3 separate regions of the Homo sapiens genome follow, and all the other regions are linked to region 2. The links are contacts of gene promoters, found by promoter capture Hi-C in blood cells and fetal thymus (Javierre and others, 2016). All regions are on one chromosome and are shown on one strand. Each heading gives the region's core, a stretch centred on a gene start or on the middle of the fragment in contact. The rest is flanking DNA. Distances are from core to core; before and after follow the strand shown. Region 1 holds the start of ARMC5 (armadillo repeat containing 5). Region 2 holds the start of GTF3C1 (general transcription factor IIIC subunit 1). Region 3 holds the start of RBBP6 (RB binding protein 6, ubiquitin ligase).

What was found. Contacts are between HindIII fragments. The CHiCAGO score rates a contact against its expected background, and 5 or more counts as called.
Region 1: a fragment that was not itself captured here is called in contact with the fragment with the promoter of GTF3C1 in region 2 in 1 of 17 cell types (fetal thymus); the score reaches 13.6 in fetal thymus.
Region 3: the fragment with the promoter of RBBP6 here is called in contact with the fragment with the promoter of GTF3C1 in region 2 in 1 of 17 cell types (naive CD4 T cells); the score reaches 5.2 in naive CD4 T cells.

What each region holds. Positions count from the first base shown.
Region 1 is chr16:31,457,078-31,461,064 of GRCh38, reverse strand. ARMC5 (armadillo repeat containing 5) reads right to left here and starts at 1,564. Exons shown (of 6, transcript NM_001105247.2): 1 at 1,066-1,564. The coding sequence starts at 1,540. RefSeq lists a silencer at 1,016-1,365 and enhancers at 1,556-1,895, 1,894-2,434, 3,082-3,650. The HindIII fragment of the contact is 2,362 bases long and covers 227-2,588 here.
Region 2 is chr16:27,548,343-27,552,152 of GRCh38, reverse strand. It overlaps GTF3C1 (general transcription factor IIIC subunit 1), which reads left to right and starts at 2,240. Exons shown (of 37, transcript NM_001520.4): 1 at 2,240-2,483. The coding sequence starts at 2,263. It overlaps KATNIP (katanin interacting protein), which reads right to left and starts at 2,009. Exons shown (of 28, transcript NM_015202.5): 1 at 1,976-2,009. The coding sequence starts at 1,982. RefSeq lists enhancers at 2,144-2,253, 2,264-2,343. The HindIII fragment of the contact is 1,688 bases long and covers 1,627-3,314 here.
Region 3 is chr16:24,537,016-24,541,230 of GRCh38, reverse strand. It overlaps RBBP6 (RB binding protein 6, ubiquitin ligase), which reads right to left and starts at 1,665. Exons shown (of 18, transcript NM_006910.5): 1 at 439-1,665. The coding sequence starts at 604. RefSeq lists enhancers at 15-1,007, 1,008-2,002, 3,429-3,723 and silencers at 1,219-1,398, 1,669-1,718. The HindIII fragment of the contact is 3,955 bases long and covers 70-4,024 here.

The sequences.
Region 1 (3,987 bases), core at 158-2,657, 3.9 Mb before region 2:
TAGTAGCTGAATGATGGGGGTTATTTAATAACCAAAGCTCTTGTCAAACATATATGGTCCAGATACATTTTATGTAAATTTTAAATATATTAATGCTTCCCTTTATCCGAAAAGTTAAGATGTCATCAAAACTAGCATAATTTCGTGGAAGGCAGGTAGTGACATGTAAACTGCTTTCACACATTGCCACTAGGAGGCACCAATTTAGCTGGTAAACAGAAAAGCTTATGTTTTGCTAGGATTTGTTCTTACTGTGCTGGTTTTAATTATTTTTATTTATTTTTTCCTGCTTCCTAAGCGACTACTGATTTGTTTGGTTTTCTAAGATACGAGGTCTTGTTACGTTGCCCAGGCTGGAATGCAGTGGCTATTCACAGGCAGTCATTGTTCACTGCAGCCTCAACCTCCTAGGCTCAAGGGATCCTCCCGCCTCAGCCTCCCAAATAGCTGGAACTACAGGCGCGTACCACTGCACCCAGCTTATGCTAGTTTTTAATAACTTGAAATACGTATCATGCTTAGAATATTTGCATATTCGTGCCATATTTGTACTTCGTTTTCTCCCCACTCTGATTTTTTTAGGTAGCTATTATTGCCCCATTTTACAAGGAATCCTAGCCTCGGAGGGGTTAGGTGACTTTTGCAGATCTCCCTTTCTGAACCACTACACCTTCCAGCTCATCAGTGGGGCTTCAGAACCTTGCACAGGGCCGGACACATAGTTGGGCACTGAATGTCTGCTATGAACATCATAACTGGACGGTAAGAATCATCTGAAAAAATCACCAAATAACTCTTTGGCCTCCGCTAGTCCAGCTTCGAAAGAAGTCCTCAACAACCAATTCCTAGATAATGGCTACAATTATCTGGTCTGGGAGGGCTCTCTCTCATCTATAGAGAGTGCAGTGACGTCACGGGGCACAACAGATTGAGAAACAGGAGCGATGCGCCATCACAAAGCACGTTATTCCGGGATAGGACACAAAGAACTCCAGACTGCCCGGGTCTAGAGAGCAAGGGAGTTGCAAACCTAATCTTTCTAGGAAACGGGGGCGGAGCACTTACCCAAAGGGAGTATGCCTCCGAGTCTGCGCACTTCGGTCCGGCACGCCCCTTCCGTACAGCAATCGGCTAGGATGCTGAGCGCCAAGTCCAGCGTCTTGCGCAGGCGCACTGGCGGCGTAGGACTAGACGACGACACAGCGGAGGGGGCGGGGCCCGACGCGGGGGCGGGGCTAGAAGCTCCCGACGCGGCCGACGAGGGGGCGGAGCCGGGGCCTGCCTGGGACGGGGCGGAACCCGCTGCAGCCGCTCGCCGTAGCAGCGCGAGTAGGGGGCGGAGCCCGCCGCGTGCCCGGAAGCGCTCGATTCCCCCCGCTGCCTTGATGTGGCGCGTGCGGAGGGCTAGGAGCGCGCGGCTCAGGGGTGTCTCGTTGGTCGCTGGGTCCTTTTCCCCACCCAGAGCCTCCCCGGCCGCCGCCGCGAGCTGCGCGAGGCAGAACGAGAGCGAGTCCGTGAGGGTTGGCTTCGCAGCCGCCATCTTGGCTCGGGCCTCAGACTCCGCCCCGCTTCTCGCCGCTGATCCCAGGGAGCGGAACTGGAAGACAGGGAAATCGTCGGGCACCGCCTCGCTGACGCTGTTTAGCGCCACCGCAGTGATGCAAGTCGGAAGTTGTAGTTCTCGACCCCGGAAGTCTGTCCTTGCACACGAGGCGCGGCAGTACCTTAATCGCAGCGCATCCTGGGACGTGCGGGCGGTGCATGAGGGAGATGTGGTCCGCGTCGAGCTTCTCACGCCTACCTCGGGAAGCGCTGGAAACTCTTCCAGGGCCCTCCAGGTGGGCCAGGGCCTCCGAACAGCCCAGAAGTCCGACCACGGAGCCTTCGTGCCGTGCCCCGCCCCCGGCGTGCACTCGGCGGGGACCGCCTTTTCTCCTCTAGGCTCGCTTCGCTGCCCCCCAGCGGTGGTGCGGCCCGGCCTTGGGACGGACTCCGAGAACCCCGAGCCGGGCCGAAAGTGCGGGGTCCTGACCGCGCCGCAGACGGGGAGCCCTCGCTCGGTCAGAGGAAGAAGAGGGTTAAACCTACCGAGAACGTTCGCTGCCGCTTCCTAGAGTGACGGGCTTGTGGAATTTTCCGTTTCCGGAGCTGGACCCCGGTGTCCCGAGTGTCCTCCGCTCTGGACGTGCTCGTGAGCTCAGGAGCTGGCATCTAGGAAACGGGGAGTTCTTCACTCGCAGCGCAGTCGGCCGCGCCAGAAGAGGCGAGGGAGAATCCGGACGGGGCGGGGCGGCGGGGGAGCGGGACATTCGCGTCCCGGGGAGCCCCCAGGTCACCCCTGGATTGCGAGGTGGCTCCGCCTGAGCAGCCCTTCCTGGTGTGGTCGGGGCAGCTGCCCGCCCGGAAAATGGTCAGGCTCTAGCCCTGGGGAGGAAGAAGCCTTTGCCAAGAGCAACCGTCTACAAGCCCCAAAACCTGCGAGTGCCGGAAATGTGGACTGACCACAGCCTGCCTCCCCGGCTTCATTCACCACCAAGGCAGCCCCTCTGGTGACAAGCCTTACCGTTGTCCGGGTTATGGCAGAAGCTTCCGATGTGGCTCTGATCTGGTTAAGCACCACTGGGTACACACCGGTGAAAAGCCGTACTCCTGCCCCGAGTGTGACCATCGCTTCGGCCCTATGCCTGTGCCTAGTGTGGTAAGACTTTCAGCGTCAGCTCCAACCTGATCCAGCACCAGCGCGCTCACACCGCTAAAAGCCTTACCGCTGAGGGGACTGCGGCAAGAGTCTCAGCCTTGGCTCCACCCTGTTGCAGCACCTGCGCTCCACATGGGTGAGAAGGCCTCTAAGTGCCTTGTTTGTAGTAAGAGTTTTGTGCACAGTTGGAATCTGCTGCGGCACCAGCACAGTCACAAAGTCCGGAAACCTGATGCTTGGTGGTGAGTGTGGCCAGACCTTCGGCCACAGCTCCCACCTGCCCATCCACTAGGCGGCCCACAGCAGCACCCCTGCGTCTGCCTGCAGTGTGGCAGGGCCCTAGCGCAAAGCTCCAACCTGGGCCAGCACCAGCGGACGCACTAGGGCGGCAGCCTCTGCAAATAGCCCTGGCTTCAATTTTAGCTGAAACTTCAGCTCTGACTTTGGTTCGGACTTCAAGGAAATGGAAGGAACCAGGATCTCTAAGCAGACCCCCTTCTGCTCCCTTAGGGCTGTTGATTTTAGAGCTAATGATGGGATTCGGTTGGGGCGAGGGGGTCTCCACATCTTTTTGCCCAACCCTTTGCTAAGTCAAGGAACCCCAGTCTGGGCTGGGCATGGTGGCTCATGCCTGTAATCCCAGCACTTTGGGAGGCCAAGGTTAGCGGATCACTGGAGGCCAGGAGTTCGAGACCAGCCTGGCCAACATATTGAAACCCTGTCTCTACTAAAAAAAAAATGCTAGGCGTGTTGGCTCTCGCCTGTAATCCCAGCTACTCGGGAGGCTGAGGCAGGAGACTCACTTGAACCCCGGGAGGCGGAGGCTGCAGTGAGCGAAGATCGTGCCACTGCACTCCAGCCTGGGCGACAGAGAGTGTCTCAAAAAAATAACAAATTTAAAAATTGTTTTTAACAAAGGAGCCCCAGTCTGGAAGAATCAGAACACTAGATCTGTGATCACTGCCTTCAAAGAGCCCAGTCAGCTGAGAGGGCTTAGGTTTGTTCTTTGAAGTTACAAAGACAGAACGTCGACCAGCTGAAGGGAGAGTTTTGGAATGGCGGGAGCTATCCAGCGTGGACCCAGCTGCCTGCAGATCTGGCAGTAGCTGACACAGTCCCTTCACAGGCCTAGGGAGTGATGGGGTTAATCACACCTAGAACAACAGCTACCTCTTCCCAGAGGAATGGGACCAGAAATCAGGCAAGCCCCTGTGAGGAGTTCCATGGCAGCGCGCAGGCGGGGCATTCCTAACCTCCAGAGGGAACCATGAGGGATCCTGTGTTCTGGC
Region 2 (3,810 bases), core at 991-3,490:
AACATAAAATAATGCTACTCTTCCTATTAATTTTTTGGAGGCAAATGTAATTGTTTTCCATTAAAAATATTATTTATGTTCAGAAGTAATGGGTTTATTGTTGTTGGAGTTTTTTTGAGACAGGGTCTAGCTATGTTGCCCAGGCTGGTCTTGAACTCCTGAGCTCAAGCAATCCACCCACTTCAGCCTCCCAAACTGCTGGGATCACAGGTGTGAGGCACTGCACATGGCCAATTATTATTATGATTATTATGAGCCACTGCACCTGGCCAATTATTATTATTATTATTGGGTTTTTTTGAGACAGAGTCTCGCCCTGTTGCCCAGGCTGGAGTGCAGTGGCAAGATCTCGGCTTCAAATGATTCTCCTGCCTCAGCCTTCCAAGTAGCTGGGATTACAGACATGTGTCACCACGTCCGGCTAAGTTTTAGTAGAGACAAGGTTTCACCATGTTGGCCAGGCTGGTCTCGAACTCCTGACCTCAAGTGATCCACCTGCCTTGGCCTTCCAGAGTGCTAGGATTACAGGCACGAGTCCATGCCCGGCCCAATTTTTATTATTTTTAAAGGAACTAATTAATGGACATCTTAAGATTTTCCCAGTTTAAATCTTCGATATGGTAAATATCATAAATATAAATAAACAAAGCTCTTTGAGGTAAGAGCATACAGGGGTCCCAAGGCTTAAAAGGTTTGAGGACTGATGTTCTATAGCAACATTACATTGACCTTTCCAGAAGGCAAAATGGTAAAGCACATTTTATAGTACCTCTAAAGTACAAAGGGAAAAGATATATTTTAAGCATATGACAGAATGTTCAATTAAAAACATTTTCTCCACACTACATTCAGTGAATATAAAAAGAATGTGGATTCCCCAGGAACAAATTCCCGAGAAGTGAGGGACAGTGCTGTAATTAGAAAAATGATCTGGACTCTAGCCCAGACCCTACCAGTCTCTCTAGACTTTAGTCTTCCCATCTGCAAAGTGAGATATCAGAATAGCCTATTTTCCATTTGCTTCCAATTGTCAATACCATGACTCTAATCAGGGATCCCTAAATGGGGGCCCACAAGCTGTCTCTGGCCTTCAGAGTGACTGGCCAACCCTGTTTTTGAGAAGTACCCCAAGAGGACAATCAGCTGGTGCTTGGTGAGCAGCTTTCCTTTCAGGTGAGGAATTGATTTTCAGTTACAGCCTCAATCCGGCTCACTAGACTCTCCTCTGCAGACATCTGCATTTACAACCTCTGGAATAAAGGGACCCTCAAAACCGGTCCAAATCTCAAGCTCCATAATTCAGCTCCAGAGACAGGGTGTCTGGGTTTCTCACTCACTCTGCTACATGCTGGTTGTTTGACTTTGGGCAAGTTCCTTAACACCTCTGAGCCTCAGTTTCATCATCTGTAAAATGGAACAACGCTGAACTCAAAAGGCTGGTATGAAGCTTAGCGAGGTGTTGCCCAAGAGTACTTACAGAGTTCTTGGTACTGGAAAGCACTTTGTTAAAGGGAGCTATTATTATTAACGCCAAGGCACAGAAAGGGAGTATTTCCTAAACTCCCTTCACCCCCCACACCAATTCCCTTTCCCAGCACCTGACGATTGCACTCCCACGATCAAGCTTGTTTTCATATCAACTCCCAAATCCGACAGTTCCACATCCCAACATTCACAAGACCCTCCTCAGACCTCTACTTCTCCTTCCCCACCCTACATCCCTTCACTGAGCTCCCGGCCAGTACCGGTTTCCTTCACGACCACAGCCGAGCAGAATGGTCACAGCACTGACCACTCCCCCAGGCTCTCCTCCGCGTTCCAGACCACTAAGCCTCCCTATCCCTCATTTCGGAGACCCCCTTGGGTCAGGAAGTGGTGGTCCAGGGGTTCATGGCCTAGGATTCTGCCCAAAGCGCGGTCGGGAGGGATGGGAGAATAACAGCCCGACCTCCCGGAGGGGCCCACAGACACTCACCGTCCATCCCTAGAGGCGGCGGTTCCGGGAGCTCGAACCGGAAGCGGCCTCTACACTGTTTGCAGTTCCCCTGGTTACTGCGGGGCCCCGGACCAATGACGGTGGAGCTCCACTTACTGAGCCCGCCCCCGGGGAGTGACGTCATGCCGGCGCGCTGGAACTCCTCCTCCGAACCCTGGGTCTGACCCACCTCCCCGGGCCCCGGATCGTTGTGCGCAGGCGCGATGGACCAAGGCCCTTGGCGGTGCGTTGCGCATGCGCCCCGGGCGCCGCCGACTGAAGTAGCAATGGACGCGCTGGAGTCGTTGTTGGACGAAGTCGCTCTGGAGGGGCTCGATGGCCTGTGTCTGCCAGCGCTGTGGAGCCGGCTGGAGACGCGAGTGCCGCCCTTCCCGCTGCCTTTGGAACCCTGCACGCAGGAGTTTCTCTGGCGGGCCCTCGCCACGCACCCGGGCATCAGCTTCTATGAGGAGCCTCGGGAGCGACCCGACCTACAGCTCCAGGACCGGTCAGCGGGCGGCCTGGCCTGGCGGGCGGGCGGGCGGGCGCAGGGCCCGGGGGCTGATGGAGCTGGGGGCAGGGCGGGGGAATGGAGTGGGGCTGTGCAAGTACCGGAGGCCTGTTGATTGAGTTGGGGCACGGCGGTAAGGCTAATCTGGGGTCCCTCAGGCCTGGCAGGGCCCTGGAGTCCGATGGAGTTGGCGGGGGGAGGGGGAGAATCTAGTGATGTCCCGTTTTGTCCCTGTGTGTGTTTTGGGGTAATGGCGAACAGGATTGGGGATATTCTTCAGGCTTAAAAGAATGTTTCCTTTACATTGGAGGATAGGATTAGAGCAGGAAAGACACTTTAGAGCCAGACTGGAGACTCCTGAGATCAACAGACCCTCATGGTATATTCATTCGGTGCAGATAGCCTAGGGCAACTCGAGATCTGCGTATCAGGACAATTAGCGATAATGCTAAAAGCTGACATTTATCAGGGACTTCATGGGTGAGGTGCTGTTCTTTTTTTTCTTTTTTGAGATAGAGTCTCTCTCTGTGGCCCAGGCTGGAGTGCAGTGGCGCGATCTTGGCTCACTGCAACCTCCGTCCGCCTCCCAGGTTCAAGCGATTCTCGTGCCTCAGCCTCCTGAGTAACTGGGATTACAGGCATGTTCCACCACGCCCGGCTAATTTTTGCATTTTTAGTAGGTATGGGGTGTCATCATGTTGGCCAGGCTGGTCGCGAACTCCTGACCTCAGACAATCCGCACCTCTCGGCCTCCCAAAGTGCTGTGATTACAGGCGTGAGCCACGGCGCCCGGCCACATTGCTGTTCTAAGAATCTATTCTAGAAGCTTTAGGAGCTTAAACTCACTTGATCCTCACTTGATTAAACTCCGTTAAACAGGAGATTAAATTCACTTGATCCTCACCTATGAGGTAGGTGCTGTTATCGTCCTCATTTTACAGAGGAAGACACTGAGTCACAGAGAGGGATTATGTAACCTAAGGTTCTGGGGGCAATAAGTGACTAAGAATTGATTTGAACCCAGGCTATTTTCAGCGTCTGTGCTCTTAAGCCATATTGTGAGGGTCAGGGGAGGTTCCAAGAGGTAATAATGTCCAAGACAGGCCGGGTGCAGCAGCTCATGCCTGCAATCCCAGTACTTTGGGAGGCTGAGGTGGATGGGTCACAAGGTCGGCAGTTCAAGACCCGCCTGACCAACGTGGTGAAACCCTATCTCTACTAAAAATACAAAAATTAGCCTGGCGTGGTGGCGCATGCCTGTATCCCAGCTACTCAGGAGGCTGAGGCAGGAGAATCACTTGAACCTGGGAGACAGAGGTTTCAG
Region 3 (4,215 bases), core at 416-2,915, 3.0 Mb after region 2:
TGTTAGGTTAGAAAATTGTTTTTTTGGTTTTTTTTTTGTTTTTTTTTTTGCTGATTGAACAAACAAGCTTTGCACAGGCTCTCCTGCCCTCCTGATGGAAAATAAGTTAGAAAACGCCCTAAGACAAGCACTCAAAGAGTCTAGATAGCTATCCCCCTCTCCTCCCTCCCTCATTTTAAAAAACAGCGAGAAGAATAATCAGGCTTCCACGTTTTGGGTTAGCCTGTTACAGATGACCCAAGTATGCAGAAATAAAATAAACCAGTGAAACTCCAAGGCCAACTGCTGCAAACCTTGGCTATCAATGAAAGTTGTATCCAAAGTACTAGAACGAACAGTCCCCACTAGAGACATAATGGCGGTTAGCTTCCTGCCAGGCACCTTCTAGCTAGTATCTCTCTCCAGCCACCAAATATCTTAAGACCAAGCGGCCCTTACCTTCTTTCGTCTGCGCATTGGTGATCTGCAGGTCGCAGTCGGCAGCTTTCAGCTTCTCTCTCCCCATAATCTGCTTCTTTAAGTCGCAGAGGGAGATGTGGAGCCCATCAAAGGTGACGGTATCATAGTTGAGTTTAGAGGAAAATTTATAATGCACACAGGACATGGTGCCAAGGGATTCCTAAGGTTCAGCGAGGAGACGTGGACACTCTCAATATACGTATATTTATAAACTTTAAGAGCAAAATATGTACACACAAAACACTCAAAGACACCGAAGGACCCTAAGGCCTCAGATTAAATACCCCCCAACCACAAGCAGGGGTTCGTCAGAACAATAATCCAGAGACCCCCCGATACTCAGAATCACTTCATGGGGGAGGAGGAGGACGAGGACGGGGAAGAGGGGAAATCGAGAATCCGCCAACGGGCACAATGTCACCCGGCTGGGTCCCCCTCGCTCATGCTAAGGGGCCGGCAGAGACGGGGGGATTGGCGGTGCAGTCAGTAGCGGTCAGTCCACACGTTAAGAGTCCGAGCGACCCCACGGGGTCAGGGGTCCATAGCGCGGCCGCACCTCCCGGCGGGTCTCTCTCTCCGTGGATTGGGGTGACCCAGGCCCCGGGAGAAGGTTGAGGGGAGAGGGCCTAGGCCCGGAGTCCACGAGCGGCCTCACGCCTCCTCCTGGCTTCCGGACGACCGGCGTCAGCTTCCCCAGGCCCAGGCCCAGGCCCCCACCGCACACAAACCCCTGGCGCCTGCTCCCCGGAGGCCACGAGCGGCCCCACGGCCTAGGCCGAAAACGCGCGGTCGGCGGAGGAGAGGCCTTCCCGCAGGCCGCCCCCGGCTCCGCCTCCCCCCGCCGCCGCCGCCGCCTCGGACACAAAGCCGGCGCTAGGCCTCGGCGAGGCCTCGGAGCACTTCCTCACCACCCCGGGCCCCAGCCGGCGGCCGGGTGGCTTCGGCGGACCCCGGGGACACCGCCGAGGCTCCCTGACGCTTCTTCTCGCCGGATCCTCCGCGCTTCGCTCGCCTTTCGTTTCCGTCGCCTTGAGGCCCGGAACCGCGAGAACACGCCCGCAAGCTGCTGGGCAGCGGCTAGGGCTTCTCCGGCTCCCTTTTTGTGTTGGCCCCCTGCCGCTCGGGGGCTCTCACCGAGCGGCGGCGACACCTCCAAGCCAGGTACTATGGCGGACGCGGCCTGGCTTCGGACGAGCGCCCCACTGCGGGGTCTCTTAAGCAGGGATTGCACGGGCGGCGCGCGCGAGGCGGGGCTGGCGTGCGCGGATAGGCGGGCCGAGAGGCGGGGCGGCTGACGTCACAAAGCGCACGGCCCGCCCACGTGACCCCGCGCTTTGTGACTCCAAAGCGCGGAAACTGAAAGAGCAGGGACAACGGGAAGAACCATCTGCTTCAAAAGGGAGGGGGGTTGCGCGTCAGGAGGACCGGCTCACAGGGAGGCTCGGTGGGGAGAGCTCGCCTTGCAGGGGCTGCGTGCAGTTTCCACTGCAAAGTGGCTTGCCTAGGGGTGGCCGGCTAACTCCCCCTTCCCCACAGGCCCCGTCAGCTCCTCTAAGCCTCCCAATTTAAGTGAGCATTATGGTTGCTACGCAGAAAACTATGGTTGCTATGCAAGCGCTCCCTAGCTGCTGCTTCCAATAAACTGGCTACCCTATACTCTTGACAAGTGGAAATCGTGGAGCAGCCGCTGCCAAGAACTGATAACAGCCACCAGCACCATACAGATTTATTGAGCTCTTACTATGTGCTAGGCACAGGGCTGATCGCATAACAACATTGCCAGGCTCAGCAGCCACGTTGTCTGGGTTGGATCCCTGGCTGTGGGGGCTCTAGATTTAACCCCTCTGTGCCTGGGTCTCCTTGGCTGTAAAATGCCATTAAAAATAGTACTTGGTTTACTTGGATTAAATAAATGCACATAAATCCATAGTCTAAGACCATGCCGGTGCATTGACGTGGCTCAATGCACCGAAATATTAATAGCTGTAGCTCAATAAATGTCAATTTAACAACAAAAACCCTACGTGGTCAACATGACATTATTTCCGATTTATAGATGATGGAACTGAAGCTAGCAATCATGTACTTTCTGAATTTGCAGAAGGGGATGCCTGCTCAGTGGCAGGGTCCCGATTCCATTCCTAAGCGCAAATGCCAGGAACAGTGACAAGAACCCCCTCAGTAGATTGGAATTTTTTTTTTCCTTTGGGCATGGGGACGTTATTACATTCAGAAAAAATCATAATATAATAAAATTACATTCATAAACGATAGTTATTATCGTTTACAATCCATGTTCCTCATCCTCTCTGAATTTTACAGGCTAGGCTCAGTGAATTTAGGCAACTGAGAATAAGATCCTATAGCCGAGAAGTAGCAGAGTTTCCCAGGGACTTCCTGCAAGCACACTCCAAATTCTTACTGAACTTGATTTAAAATTAATCACCATCCTGCCAGAAAAGCCTTCCTAAGGCCATCTTTTTAAAATAAGATGGCGATCTTTCTCTATCCCTTTAGTCTTTTCTTCCTAGCACTTGCAGATAGTTGACAGTTACACATTTACTTTTTAATTATCTATCTCCCCCAACCCCTACCTTCGGCTGACAATAGGAATCTTATCTTTATATTTGTTTTTGCTGTATCCTCAGCTCTTAGAACATAGTAGGTGCTCAATAAATACGTGCTGAATAACTGGATACATTTTTACGTGATCCATAGAGATGTCGTGGCAATAAAATTTTGGCCGTAGTCAAGGGCAGCTCTAGAGATACCATTACAATTTAACTCAACCACACACATCAGTACTTTTCATATATAACAAGTTTCTTCCACTTTTACCTCTTTGTTATTTCACCAAAAACTTATTGCTGCCAGGTCCTCTTCAGGTTGGTTGCTTTTTTCTTAAAAGCCTCTGTGTGAATGAAAGGGCGAGGGCTATCTCTAGTGAAAGAAAAACTCGACGAGAAAATTGCAAGCCGTCATGGAATTCACTCCGAAGCGGTGAATCTGTTCCTTTTGCCCGTCTGTGGCCGACCCCTTTATATACTGAATGCCTAATTTAATCAGCGTGGTGCATCATGGGATCTCAAAGTGGGCCACACCCTCAGGATATGACAGAGTGGATCATAACCTAATCTGCAGGGGGGGATGTCCTTGGAAAGAATGTTGTCTATTGGTCCAACCGTTCTCATCTGCCAAAAACTTTGTTCAACCTTGATATTCTCACTTACAGAGGCCTCACTTCATATCACATCAAACAGGTCAAAATGCATTCACCACCTGCAATAAGCCTATGACTTGAGTTGCCTGACTAATTGACACAATGCTACATTTGGTCCATTTCACTGAATTCCTTTACTAATCTTCATTTTGCAGTTTTCTTTTTTTAAAAAAAAAACTTTTTATTTTCTTTTTTCTTCAGTGAGCTGAATTGTAAATTTTGCCGTTTTCTTTGGGTAATATGGAGCTGGTCTCCCTGACGCTTCTCTCCCTACCAATATTTTTGTAAGCCCTGAAAAAGCCTTTTGTACTATCCTACAGTGAATGAAGCATTCCTGTCTAAGCTTCTCATAATGTAACAATTCTGGAGCTCCCATGTCCCAGGATTTCAAACCTTTGTCATTCTCAAACCCAGTATAGCCTCATACCATTGACCATAGACAGTTAGTAAACCCCTTAACTTATTTTCTTATGTCAAAATTCAGTTCCAGCAAGCGGAATTGGGAGATCCAAGGAGCTCTGCCTGCCTGCTGTCTG